Linked DNA regions of Homo sapiens: region 2 is linked to region 1. Evidence: promoter capture Hi-C in human tissues and cell types (Jung and others, 2019). All regions are on one chromosome and are shown on one strand. The core of a region is centred on a gene start or on the middle of the fragment in contact, and the rest is flanking DNA. Distances in the headings are between cores, read along the strand shown. Region 1 holds the start of TMEM116 (transmembrane protein 116). Region 2 overlaps ATXN2 (ataxin 2).

The links. Contacts are between HindIII fragments. The study calls those that stand out against the background at their distance.
Region 2: a fragment that was not itself captured here is called in contact with the fragment with the promoter of TMEM116 in region 1 in 1 of the 25 tissues and cell types used here (hippocampus).

What each region holds. Positions count from the first base shown.
Region 1 is chr12:112,007,953-112,015,266 of GRCh38, reverse strand. TMEM116 (transmembrane protein 116) reads left to right here and starts at 2,102. Exons shown (of 11, transcript NM_001193531.2): 1 at 2,102-2,265. It overlaps ERP29 (endoplasmic reticulum protein 29), which reads right to left and starts at 1,841. Exons shown (of 3, transcript NM_006817.4): 1 at 1,658-1,841. The coding sequence starts at 1,801. RefSeq lists enhancers at 368-507, 2,178-2,367, 2,238-3,126, 3,631-4,144 and silencers at 1,508-1,597, 1,938-2,017. The HindIII fragment of the contact is 14,663 bases long and covers 832-7,314 here.
Region 2 is chr12:111,452,603-111,459,053 of GRCh38, reverse strand. ATXN2 (ataxin 2) reads left to right here. Exons shown (of 25, transcript NM_001372574.1): 22 at 1,695-1,840; 23 at 2,798-3,025; 24 at 5,209-5,377; 25 at 6,214-6,451. The coding sequence ends at 6,242. Among named protein-coding and RNA genes, the nearest start is that of SH2B3, 50 kb to the right of the region's middle. The HindIII fragment of the contact is 9,101 bases long and covers 1-6,451 here.

The sequences.
Region 1 (7,314 bases), core at 853-3,352:
ATCTACCTGCCTCAGCCTCCCAAAGTGCCGGGATTACAAGCATGAGCCACCGCACCCAGCCCACACTTTTTTTTTTTTTTTTGAGACGGAGTATTTGCTCTGTCGCCCAGGCTGGAGTGCAGTGGCGTGATCTTGGCTCACCGCAACCTCCGCCTCCTGGGTTCAAGCAATTCTCCTGTCTAAGCCTCCCGAGGAGCTGGGACTACAGGTGTCCACCACCACGCCCAGCTAATTTTTGTATTTTTAGTAGGGACGGGGTTTCACCTTGTTGGTCAGGCTGGTCTCAAACTCCTGACCTCAGGTGATCTACCCGCCTCAGCCTCCCAAAGTGCTGGGATTACAGGCGTGAGCCACTAAGCCCGGCCTACACTTTTAAATTCTTGAAACTTTGCCTTGAATGAGCTGCAAGTGCCAAATCCACGACAGGGAACGCTTGAAAATAGGAGACTTCAACCACTGGAGACAACTACTTCTTGGTTTCACTTCCCCACAATGAGTACAAAACCTGAAAATGAAATGACTGGCTCTCTCGCAACACTAAGCTTGCCCATCTCCTAGAGGAAGTTAAAAGCTGCTCGTGGGTGAAGACAGGTGCAAGAGGAGGGGACTGGGACTGCGGTGTTGCATTCAGCCACCATTTCCAACCGTCCATTTACTCAGGCCAGGATCCCTAATTCTGCAAAAATGGAAGGGGGGAAAGGCGGAGGTAGTGGCAAATTCTTCCATGCCTTGACCCAATTTTACTGATTTTGTTGCCAACCCCAAGATGTTTCCTACAACAGCTATCCCCAACCTTTTTGGCACCAAGAACTGGTTTCATGGAAGACAACTTTTCCACGGGGTTGGGTGGTTTCGACATGAACCTGTTTCGCCTCAGATCATCAGGCATTAGATTCTGATAAGAAGCACACAACCTGGATCCCTCACATGCGTAGTTCACAATAAAGGTCGTGCTCCTATGAGAATGTAATGCCGCAGCTGATGTAACAGGAGGCGGAGCTCAGGCTGTAGTGCTAGCTCGCCTGCCGCTCACCTCCTGCTGTGCGGCCCGGTTTCTAACAGGCCACCGACGGGCCTGGTGGTTGGGGACCCCTGCTTTACAGGGTGGCTGAACTGAAGCTTATTCTTCACGCTTGCACTATTCAAGATGTATGATATCTGATCATTGTTTGCACACTGCAAAGCAGGCTGCAATCCAACCCTGGGAAGAGGGGCGCGGACACGCAGGCTAACGCGCCTGCATTTCCCCCCGCCAACCCCTCCCAGCTTCCACAGCCGGGAGCCCGGTGGCGTCGACCTCGCACCGCCCTCCGGTTCTCCCACTTGGGACTCGAGGGTTGGATCTCGCCAGGCACCGCCCTCTCCCCACAGGTGAAGGGAAGGGGCACCCAGTTCCCTCGGCTGCATCTTTGCAAGGGTGGATGCAAGTATAAATGCTGCAAAAGCAAGGGTGCGCCGGGGCCCTGAAGCGTGCATGCCCGGTGGTCATAACATTCTCCGCTCAGAGTCCACTAGGCCTGTAGGACGCCGGGAAGCTCTGGGACCGTTGCTACAGACCACCTCCCGTCAGCTCCCGGAATCCAGCGTCTCCCCACGGGCGCGCGCTCTTCCGGGCGCCCCGGCGGCACCTGCGCGCGACGTCCCCCGCCCCGGTTACCTTGTAGAAAGTGACCGTATCCAGGGGAAGGGCGCCCTTGGTGTGCAGGCCGCTGCCGCCATGCGGAGCGGAGAGGAGCAGGAAGCCCAGGAGAAGGGGAAGCAGCGGGGAGAGAAATGCGGCGCGGGGCACAGCGGCAGCCATATCGCCGGGTTCCTGCAGAGGGAGGTAGGTAAGCGATAGTGGAGAACGCCCCGAGTCAGCGGTCACGTGACTGGGGGGGCGGACTCACGCGCGCTCACGTGGACACCCCAGGAGGCTCCCATCTGTCTAGGGTGAGAGGGTGGGGCCACGTGAGGGGCGGGGCGAGGGAGGGGAAGCTGCTGCGCACGCGTACTCGGCGAAGCTCGCGTAGGGCCTGGGTAAAAGGGCGGGGCCACGTTGCGGGCGGGAAAATGGGCTCCTGCGCGCGCGCACTCGCCGAGTCTTCCGGCGGGTCCGCCCAGTTCCGTTCCTGCTCCGCTTGAGGAGAAGCGCCAAGTGCGCATGGGGACGCTATAGCAATTCGTTTGCTGTCCTTCCTCTCCTTCGAAGATGACAAGGCCTACCATCGTTTCTTCCTGCCTTTGGGCCGTCAGGCAGTTGGTTGGGACCCGCTCCAACCCTCGGTCAGTCTATTAGTCAAGTTCAGCCGTTATTCTCAGTCAGGCTCCGTCACCACCCTGACCCAGGCGGGCAGTGGCTCCGCGGCTTCCCTGAGCTTTTTGGCCAGGCTTGGCGGTCAGTGTGGCAAGCAGGGCCCTCTTAGGCCCGATCTGAGGTGAGCGCCTCCCCTGGGAGACGCCAGGCTCCTGGGATCCGCCCAGCCAAGGCCCACCCTCCAGGAACCCCAGACGCAATTCTAATCATTCTGTTCCGCAGGTAGTCACTCGGTCCCTGGCTTGTGCCAGACTCTGGCTTTGCCTGCGGGGCTACGGAATAAGCAGAAACAAGACCGTTGTGTGCTGAAGGCACGCACTTTGTTGGGGGAGGAGGCGGCATAGGAATAATGATCTAAACAGTGCAGTGTAATTGCTGTAAAATATTATTCCGGCTGGGCGCGTTGACTCACGTCTGTAATCCCAGCACTTTGGGAGGCCGAGGCAGGTGGATTACCTGAGGTCAGGAGTTCGAGACCAGCCTGGCCAACATGGTGAAACCCCGTTTCTACTAAAAATCAGGCGAGTGTGGTGGTGCGTGCCTGTAATCCCAGCTACTCAAGAGGCTGAGGCAGGAGAATTGCATGAACCCAGGAGGCGGAAGTTGGGGTGAGCCGAGATTTCGCCATTGCACTTCAGCCTAGGTGACAGAGCGAGACTCAGTCTCAAAAAGAAAAAAAAAGACCGTATTTTCTTATTGTAAAGAGACAGAGATTCAGCCATCCCTGCTCAGGAGCATCAGAGGAAGTTGTAGACAGGAGGTGACTTTTGAGCTGGACCTTGAAATAAGAGGGGGCGTGCATGAGGCAAAGAGAAACAGGGCATTTCTAACAATGGGAAAATTATGCACAGGCATGTTGGGGAACTGGTTGAGATGAATCTATGTAAAGGCGAACTGGCGCAACAGCTGCTGCCGCTCTTTTTTATTTTGATTGATTATTACTGAGCTTCCATGGGGCGGATTCGAAAGGGTCTCACCAAGCTAAAGGGTTTGGAGTCACCAGAAGTTTTAACTAGGAGAGTGAGGTTAGATTTGTGTGTAGAAACAGCACCCAGGTCAGCCTGGGCAACGTAATGAAACCTCGTCTCTACAATAAGTAGAAAAATTAGCCATGTGTGGTAGTGCATGCCTGTGGTCCCAGGTACTTGGGAGGCTGAGGCAGCAGGATCACTTGGACCTGAGGGGTCGAGGCTGCAGTCAGCCCTGATTGCTGCCACTGCACTCCAGTCTGGGCAACAGAGAAGACTGTCTCAAAACAAAAACAACATTACTCAGGAATGAAGGAAATGGATTGGAATTGAGAAGACGGGACTAAAGCCAATTAATGGGGTATGGCAATAGTCTAGTTGGAAGAGGTTAAGGTCATGCAGTAGGACATAATAGGGCTGAAGAAGTATGGATGGAATTGACAAACTTTTAAAGGGTAGAATTCACAAGATTTGATGAACAAATGCATGTAAGAGAACATATACAATGCATTGTAAGGGACTTACTGCTATAATTAACCATTGTATGTTTCCAAAATGTATGTGTATAAATAGTCAACAGTGATAACAGGATCCAATCATGGACAACCAGTTTGATTGGATATAAATTTTGAAAGAAAGTGTGTGTGTGTTTGTGTGTGTGTATGTGTGAATGTGTCTGGGGAAGTTAAGAAAAATTTTGAGTTTGCCCTATTGATGGCAGCCAGCTGCAGCAGGGAGGTGTGACTGGGGCTGCACACTCCATGGAGCCTGTGGGAGCCCCGCCCCTTCTGAGTTGAGGCAGGAGCCCCTGGTGCCATTGTGGCTGCCCTCCCAGGTGCAGGACCTGGGCATCTCTGCAGCCTGCACCCTTGGGGGACCAGCAAGACACCCTACTGCAATCCCTGCAGGCTCAGGAGTGTCTGTTCCCACCGCCTGGACTCTCTCTACTCCCGGGGCCTGCTCCAATCTCAGAGCGGGCTTGGGGCCAAGAATGGCAATGGGAGGCAGATTGATTCCAGGGTAGAAGTGGGTGAGTCCCCAGTAAGACCCCACCTTCAGGTCAGGGAGGGCCTGAAGACAGGGGTCCAGGCTGCCAGTCCTGCAGACTGGAGTAGGGACTCGTGGTGCATCTTCTGGCCTGCCCATGGACCAATCGGCATGTACTTCCTCCCCTCGGAGGTCCATAAAAACCCTGGGTTCAGCCAGAGTAGGGCAGAGGACTGCCAGAGGACCAAGAGGGCAGAGACCTATGGGTCAACAAGCCTAAGAGAGGAGCTACCCTCTCTGCTGATAGTTGGAGATGATGGAACAGCCAGTTGCAAAAAGGACCTACCCTCCCTGCTGACAGCTGCAGAGACAACCTGTGGGCAGAGAAGAGCCACCCTCTCCAGGGCCTCCTCTCTTCTGAGAGCTGCAGACATTAGGACGATCAGTTGCAGAGAGGAGCCATCCTCTCCAGGGCCTCCTCTCTACTGAGAACTGAATACCTGATGGACAACCTGCCTACAGAGAGGAAATACCCACTGGAGGTCTCTGAGCTGTTGTAACACTCAATAAAGTTCATCTTTGTCTTGTTCACCCTTCATTGTCCACGTACCTCATTCTTTTCCTGGATGCAGGACAAGAACTCGGGTAAAGGCACTGTGGCCACAGAGGTTTCTGGCCAGAAAATGGACACCCCAAAGACCCCGTAACACTATGAGCTACAAGACAAGTGATAGAAATTAGAAGAAGGGAAAACTATGAACTGAGGTGGTGAAACAAGGCTTTATGTAACTGGTGGAAATAGAGTTAAGCCTTGGAAGGAGGAACATTTTAGATAGAGAACAAGTGGAAAAGGAGCAGATACGGGAATGAACATGATGCTTTGGGAGAATGACTGGCTTGGTTGAAGGGAGTTCTCCAAACAGGAGATAGTAAAACAGTTTTAAGCTCAGATAGGAGGGAGTCTTGAAGTCAAACTAAGAATTTTCTGTTCTGTAGTCTATATGGAGCTATTAAGAGTTTTAAAATTTCTTTATAAAACATTTAAACTTCTAAAATTATTCACTTCTCAGTATAAATAACTTCGGTTATACCTAGTTAGTAGAATTGATCAGCAGTGACTTTCTAGTCATGGTTAGTTTAGAAGTAGGTTTTGTTTTGTTTTTTTTTTTTTTGAGACAGAGTCACTTGGTCACTCAGGCTGGAGTTCAGAGGCCTGATCTCAGCTCACTGCAACCTCCACCTCCTGCGTTCAAGTGATTTTCCTACCTCAGCCTCCTGAGTAGCTGGGATTACAGACGTCTGCCACCACACCTGGCTAATTTTTTTTTTTTTGTATTTTTAGTAGAGATGGGGTTTCACCATGTTGGCCAGGCTCATCTTGAACTCCTGACCTCAAATGATCCACCTGCCTTGGCCTCCCAAAGTGCTGGGATTACAGGCGTGACCCACTGCACCCAGCATTTTTTTTTTTTTTTTTTTTAAGTAAACCCATGCTGATTTAGCAGTTACTTTTTTTCTAATTGTTTGCAAACACATCTTTTGGACAATTCATTCTAGAATCTTATTTGGGATCAATACTAAGATCCTTGACATATGGTTTGGTTTGCAGATTTCACATCTTTTTGCCTTTAATTTAGTTATTACCAGGTTTCTAGCAAGTTTCCCATTTTTACATGAACTCTCAAATTTTTCTCAAATGGTTTATTGGGTTAACTGGCAAGTTTTATCAAAATTCTGGAGGGTAATTTGTTCAGGCCAGGAGTGGTGGATTTATTTAGAGTAGTCAGGTGCTCTCTTACAATCTTTATCTTCAGTTCCTTCTTACAATGTTTGTTTTATACTTTATATTGTGAGTATTATCCTTTTTAGTCAGACAGAAACATCCATTAATCATTACACCGTGAATTCTAGCACTGGGCATTTCCTTCCTTGCTTTTGTTCCAAACTTCATTTTATTGGCAGTAATTTTACTAAGATACAATTCAAAAGCACTTCATAATTGGTAACTGTTATTACTAGAAATCTTTTTTTTTTTTTTTTGAAATGGAGTTTCGCTCTTGTTGCCCAGGCTGGAGTGCAATGGTGCGATCTTGGCTCACTGCAACCTCCACCTCCTGGGTTCAAGCAATTCTCCTGCCTCAGCCTCCTGAATAGCTGGCATTACAGGCACCCACCACCATGCCTGGCTATGTATTTATTTGTATTTAGTAGAGAGAGGATTTCACCATGTTGGTCAGGCTAGTCTCAAGTTCCTGACCTCAGGTGATCCACCCACCTTGGCCTCCCAAAGTGCTGGGATTACAGGCGTACTCCACCGTGCCTGGCCTTAGAAATCTTTAAATGTTATTTTTAGAAAACTTTTTGGTTAAATAAAAATATTTTACAAAGGCAAGTGTCTTTCCTGACTTTGAGTAACTTGCTCATGATAGCAATTTTATGAATATGTGTTAACTTGAATTGATATATAATATACAGTAGCCCAATAAGTTAAGAACTGGGATAGGTTTGAACTTGCTAAGGAGGTTTTTTTTTTTTTGAGGTGGAGTCTTGCTCTGTCATCCAGGCTGGAGTGCAGTGGCATGATCTTGGCTCACTACAACTTCCGCCTCCCGGGTTCAAGCAATTCTCTGTCTCAGCCTCCCGAGTAGCTGGGATTACAGGCGCCCGCCACCATACCCAGCTAATTTTTGTATTTTTAGTAGAGGCGGGGTTTCACCATCTTGGCCAGGCTGGTCTCCAACTCCTGACCTTGTGATCCACACGCCTCGGCCTCCGAAAGTGTTGGGATTACAGGTGTGAGCCACCGCGCCCAGCCTTTTTTTTCTTTTTAACACAGGGTTTCACTCTGTCGCTCAGGCTGGAGCGTGAGTGCAGTGATGCAAACACAGCTCACTGCAGCCTGGACCTCAGCCTCAAGAGATCCTCCTGCCGCAGCCTGCTGAGTAGCTGGGACCACAGGCATGCAAGGAGCTTTTTGCTAAAAAGAGATAAAGGAAAACTGAAAATAAATATCACCTACTTCATCATTTGAGCTTGGACTAGCCCTTTTAGAAAAGGAAGATG
Region 2 (6,451 bases), core at 2,072-4,571, 560 kb after region 1:
AACTGGATATGAAGGAATATTAATGCCAGCTGTGGCATTGGCAGTGGATGCACAGGTGATCCTAGAACTGGCTCTTTGCCTTGCCCTTTCCCCTGCTAAGAGATAGCTTTGCAGCTGGAGACGTAACTGTTAGGGCTGGAGAGTTGGTGGCCCTTAGCCCTACAACACCTAGGATTATAGAACTGCTCCATGTGCCTAGCCTAACCCTCTGCACACCATTTACGTGGAATATACCCAGAGCCGTCTATGCTGGTGACTCGGCAGCCTTGCCTACCAGACTGCTGGAACTAGGGTGCCTCTTCCCAAAGCTGTGCTTGCTTCTCTCACCAATCAGTCCTGCATATGTCTGTGTTTGCTAACACGTTATATGAAGAATGTGGGGAACTATTTTGGAATCATTTCTGTGTATGGGCTTATTATCTTGAGGGATTTTAGGATTTGTTTCTCAAGAGAGGGCTGGGAACTATACCTTGCTAGAGTTGTCTTGAGAACGCTCTATTCTCAGCTCATTGCCTCGTGGAGGTTAGTTTTTTATCATCGGTGTGCTGTCCATAGTCACTGGAAGCAGTGAACACATCCTACTCTGCTTCTGATTCTCAACTTACTGTTTTTGAAGCACATGAACAGGCCAGGCACGGTGGCTCACGTCTGTAATCCCAGCACTTTGGGAGGCTGAAGTGGGCGGATCATTTGAGGTCAGGAGTTTGAGATCAGCCTGGCCAGCATGGCGAAACCCCATCTCTACTAAAAATACAAAAATTAGCTGGGCGTGGTGGCACATGCCTGTAATCTCAGCTACTCGGGAGGCTGAGGCAGGAGAATTGCTTGAACCTGGGAGGCAGAGGTTGCAGTGAGCCTGGGCAACAGAGTGAGTGAGACTTATATCTCAAAAAAAAACAAAAAACAAAAAACTGAAAGACATGAAGAAATGGTTTTTGTACCAAGGTTTGGCCCACGCTGAGATTCACAAAGAACTGGCTTTCAGTTCTTATCTTTATTTTGATTTAAACTGGCCCATCATGTTGTCCTTTGAAGTTAGTCTAGTAAATTTCTTTCCAAAGGGCTGGGGCACTCAGAAGGGAGTTTACTTTTCTATATTTATTTCATAAAGCAAAGATGGGAGATCCTCCATTAGGGCTTGGGAAAGTAAACTGAGTGGCAGAAGGGCTCCTGTGATTAGCTGAGAGAGACTGTGGTCCTTCGGCCCTGATGATAGATCCCTGGCCTTGCCACATACCATACACAGTGCCCGCACCCCCATCCCCCACCACACCCAATATAGTCTGTGCCCTCAGGACATTGCTCCAGGGCAGTAGCATGGTGAGGTTAGCCTGATGATGGCCTTGAGCTAAAGAGTGTGCACCTAAAATGCACTTGTTTGAGTAGTTTCTGCCTATGCCTTCAAGTTGCCTTTTTGGGAAAACCTAGTGACCGTTAAGAGTAAATGCAAACTAATTTGATTTTAATATCATATGTAGAGCTGTATTATATGAACCAAATGCTAGTCTGTTAAGCAATAGCTACACTTATTTTTTCAAGACAATGGATGGTTTAAATGGAGTCATCTATAGAAATTGGTAGTGGCGTGAGTTATGCATTGTAACCATCAAGAAAGTTCAGTTGATGAAGTGTAGAGGAGCGATGGAGGTTGTCAGACATCGGTTGTGTACATGCTCCTTTTTCTTTCACTTTAGTTTCCACGGGCTCCCTTGCTCAGCAGTATGCGCACCCTAACGCTACCCTGCACCCACATACTCCACACCCTCAGCCTTCAGCTACCCCCACTGGACAGCAGCAAAGCCAACATGGTGGAAGTCATCCTGCACCCAGTCCTGTTCAGGTAAGGGCAACTCAGAGGTCTGCATGGAGTGGCTTCTTTATCCTAGTATCTGAGTGCTTTCTTCAGGTGCCAGGTATCGCATCGTCAGAACACATGGCATGTCCACCCTCGTGAAGATGGATACAGCTGTGCCCCTGGGGTGGTGGTTTTAAGAATCACATTTAAAGGCTGGGCGCAGTGGCTCACGCCTGTAATCCCACCACTTTGGGAGGCCGAGGCGGGTGGATCACGAGGTCAGGAGATTGAGACCATCCTGGCGAACACTGTGAAACTCCGTCTCTAATAAAAATACAAAAAAATTAGCCGGGCGTGGTGGTGGGCGCCTGTAGTCCCAGCTTCTCGGGAGGCTGAGGAAGGAGAATGGCGTGAACCCGGGAGGCGGAGCTTGCAGTGAGCAGAGATCGCGCCACTGCACTCCAGCTTGGACAACAGCGAGACTCTGTCTCAAAAAAATAAAAAATTAAAAAAAATCACATTTAAGATACATGTTGATAATAAGGTGATTGGATAAGCTCTGGAAACTTGCAGTAATGAAAAATCAAATTTAACATAAAGTTCATAAGGCAAATTCCTATTTGCTTGGGACTTTTTAATTTCTAAGGTTTATGTGATGAGGTTATTTTCCTATGAGCTTCTTGAATTATGTTTGCTAATGGAGGCAGTTAAAGATGTCTTTGATATCTATCAGTTCCCTGGGGCAGTAGTCTTTTTTGACTTTAGTATGTATGCTCAGAAGTTTCTAACTGCCAGACTGAGAATCAGGCTTCTGTACCCTAGAAAGGAGTTGTCCAGATGGGAGGCACCTCCAGCCTTGCTCTTACCACCCTGTACATTCTCCTGTACTTTCCAGTGACCCTCATCATAGGCCCAAGTGTGCAAAGCTTAGCTTTGTGGGTATCCCTTGGCTGCTTTTCATTAAAGAAGTTTTCCTCTCAATTCTTTCCTGTCGCTTTGCAGCACCATCAGCACCAGGCCGCCCAGGCTCTCCATCTGGCCAGTCCACAGCAGCAGTCAGCCATTTACCACGCGGGGCTTGCGCCAACTCCACCCTCCATGACACCTGCCTCCAACACGCAGTCGCCACAGAATAGTTTCCCAGCAGCACAACAGACTGTCTTTACGATCCATCCTTCTCACGTTCAGCCGGCGTATACCAACCCACCCCACATGGCCCACGTACCTCAGGTAATACCAGCTTTAGCCAACTTTCTGTGAAGGCCAAGTAGAATGTGAAGGTTATCAGTAAGCAGCTAGAGGCTCTCCCAGCTAGGAAACCCTGTGTGTCATGCCATTTGCCTGTCTCCCTTTCCCTCTCAAATACACGTGATCTGGCCCTAAGGGAATGTTTGTGTGGTTTTGTCATGGGATCAGTGAAGGTGCTGATTGGTCAGTCCTTTAGTTTTCCAACTGAGACCTTAAAAATATCTTTGACTCTGGAATGCAACCCAGTCCTTCTTTCCTTTCTGTGTCTGCTTTGCTATGTCTATATAGCCTCACTACTATATATATGTGTACATATATATTCCCCTACACACTTACCTTGGAAGCCAGGCAGGGATGATGGCCTTCACAGAGTCTCAGCTCTCCGAAGTGACTACCGGGGCCTGTCAACTTGATTGTTACTCACATGAGTTCCAGACACATCTCTCCAATTGTTTTCCCTGGTTATCCATATATCTGCTTTGACCATAAGTTGTACTCTTGAGAGGGCTTGGCCTTGGACATTGGTGCAGTGTAACTAGAAGCTGGAAGCACCCAGGTGGTCCCATTTTTCTTTAAGAGCAGCCCTGGAAGCACTTTGGAGCTCACCTCCAGTGTAAGCTGCTACAGGTGAAAGGTGTGCTTGCCATCTCAGTGGTTGCTGTCTGCATCAGCTGCTGACAAAGGTCCCTGCACTCCAGGGCCCAGGGGATTGTCTTAATGAGGAGAAGGAGCTGCACTGAAGTTGGGCTCTAACGCTGGCCTTGAGGCCCTCCCTGGGGCTGTTACGGGTGAATTGGCTGTATTAGATGTCTCTGCTACTTTCATAACAGAACTCTCTGAGGCGGGTCTAAGTGAGACCTGCCACAATGAATTCCATTTCCTGTTAAATAGTGCGCCAGTGAGGCTCTGGCAAGGTGTGGGCTAGAGATGCGACTCAGTTGGATCTATCTCTCAGAAGGCTACCTTGTAAGTAGAGTTCCACAGCTCTGGGAAGTTTGGGCGTCCTCACCCTGCAAAGTTTAGGTTCTGTGGTGTAGCGCACTGCAGTTGATTTGCTTTTTGATAGTGGGGAGGGAAGCCGGTTTGGTCCGTGTGGGCCAGCGTGGTTTGGTGGAGTCAGCTTCATAAGAGCTGGGGTCCTGTAGGTGTCTACCAGAGGCTGGTGGCTAAGTAGGCATGTGAACTTACATGTAAGTCAGGGATCCCTAAAACCTCACTCTGTTTTTGTGCTGAAAGGGCAAAAAGGTTAACACAGGGAAGCTCAAATTTGCCATGTGCCCGTTTGAATATGTGAGAGTAAAAACGGCATTTCATCCAAGGCTTATCGTAGTCTAGAACAGTGCACAGTGTGGGAAAAAGGAAACAAGGGCTCTTCCTGGCCCTGCCAACCCCCTGCAGAGCTGGAATCCAGCTGTTTGGGCTGACTAAAATCACCTTTCCAACTTGACAGTGAGTGAGACCAGGTTGAACTTGGTACAGAGACGCTGGGCTGGCCCAGATGACTTCAGGTTACTCCTTTCCATCTCACTGGAGCCATTAAAAACTCCAACTCCTCCTCCTCCTCCTGCTCCATCAGCATATCTCTGAGAGAGTCACGGGGGCCTAAGAGTCTCTTTTCACTGCCTGGTGAGCAGACCAGAAGCAGAGGGAGAGAGGCAAATGAACAGAGGTCCAAGTAATTCACATACTTGACTGTGACAGTCTCTGCTTATTAATGTAATCTGTTTTCCTATTTGAAAGGGATGTTATCTGCAAAACTACCTCAGGCCCCACATGGCAGCCTGATTCTGAAGCATCATTGAATCTTGTATGATATTAAGTTGAGAAAGCTGCCCTTGGATCCAGTGTCTAATCTTTGTGAAGATCTTACCCCATACATAGAATACAATGATCAGAAATGTCAAGGGTTAGGACAGCACAGCCCTGACTTCTACCCAGGCTCACTTGTTGCCTGCTCCCTGACCCTTGCAGGATCTGCCCAAAGGTGAAGCGCGTCTTCAGGTCAATAGATAATCTACTAGAGATTGTCCCCAGAGAACAGAACTGGGCCCTGAGGCCCACCGTTGCCCTTTCCTGAGAGTCCCAGCCCAGTGAAAGGAACACAGTTGACATGTTGTTGAAGCCGGAGATGTTGCCTGTATGCGTAAAAGAGCTCTCTGTTTCAGGCTCATGTACAGTCAGGAATGGTTCCTTCTCATCCAACTGCCCATGCGCCAATGATGCTAATGACGACACAGCCACCCGGCGGTCCCCAGGCCGCCCTCGCTCAAAGTGCACTACAGCCCATTCCAGTCTCGACAACAGCGCATTTCCCCTATATGACGCACCCTTCAGGTGAGGCGTGTGTGTGCAGGGGCCGCCGGGGCACCCCAAAGCATTCTGCTCGCACAGGTGGAATGGCAGGCAGGGCCAGTGCTTCAAGCCCCGCATTTGAGAACTAGCAAGACCCGTCCAGGAGTGTGCACAGGAGGGACTGTGACGATCAGTTCAGCATCAGGGCCTGAGGCTTCCGGGAGCCGAGTCTGTGTGTGTTCTGATGGTATACAGGATTTGGCTTGATGAGAAGCAGCAGCAGCAGCAACAGCAGCCTGATGCATGCCTAGGACTCAGTTGGCCTTCCTTGTTATGACAGGCTGGACAGGGCAGTGTTTTCCTTCCTGAGTCCCAAAAGTCTGACATGTGGGGGGTTATTACCATGGCAGAGTTTGATTGTAGCTCTGGAGAAGATACTGCTGAGAAAGCGCTGTGGATGGACTGGCTTTGAGTGTAGCGTTAGCCCCAGCCCCTGAACAGGGGAGAGCGCCCTGTGATTGTGCTCTACTACTTGATGGCTGCCATGGCGATACTTCACAGTCTGACCTGTTATTCTGAAAGCAATACTGGTGCTTGGCTAATATTTGGGGAGGGGGTTTGTTAAGGCCTTTTTTTCTACCCCATGAACAAGTCTTCTGGGAGTTTTATCTGAAGTGGTTTTACGTCTGACTGGTTTGTTTCTACCCACCCACCCAACCCTCCCCACTTTGGTGCAGATGGGAGGGGGAAAAGCGAATTCAATTTTGAGTTTTGTTCAGCTAGCACGAGGATAGTTTACAATCATGTGCTGCAGAGACACTAGGCTGATGTGTGGTGTTGCCAGTTTTCTGTTTCAATGTTCGCTTTTCTTTTTACAGTACAAGCCCACCACCAACAGCAGTTGTAAGGCTGCCCTGGAGGAACCGAAAGGCCAAATTCCCTCCTCCCTTCTACTGCTTCTACCAACTGGAAGCACAGAAAACTAGAATTTCATTTATTTTGTTTTTAAAATATATATGTTGATTTCTTGTAACATCCAATAGGAATGCTAACAGTTCACTTGCAGTGGAAGATACTTGGACCGAGTAGAGGCATTTAGGAACTTGGGGGCTATTC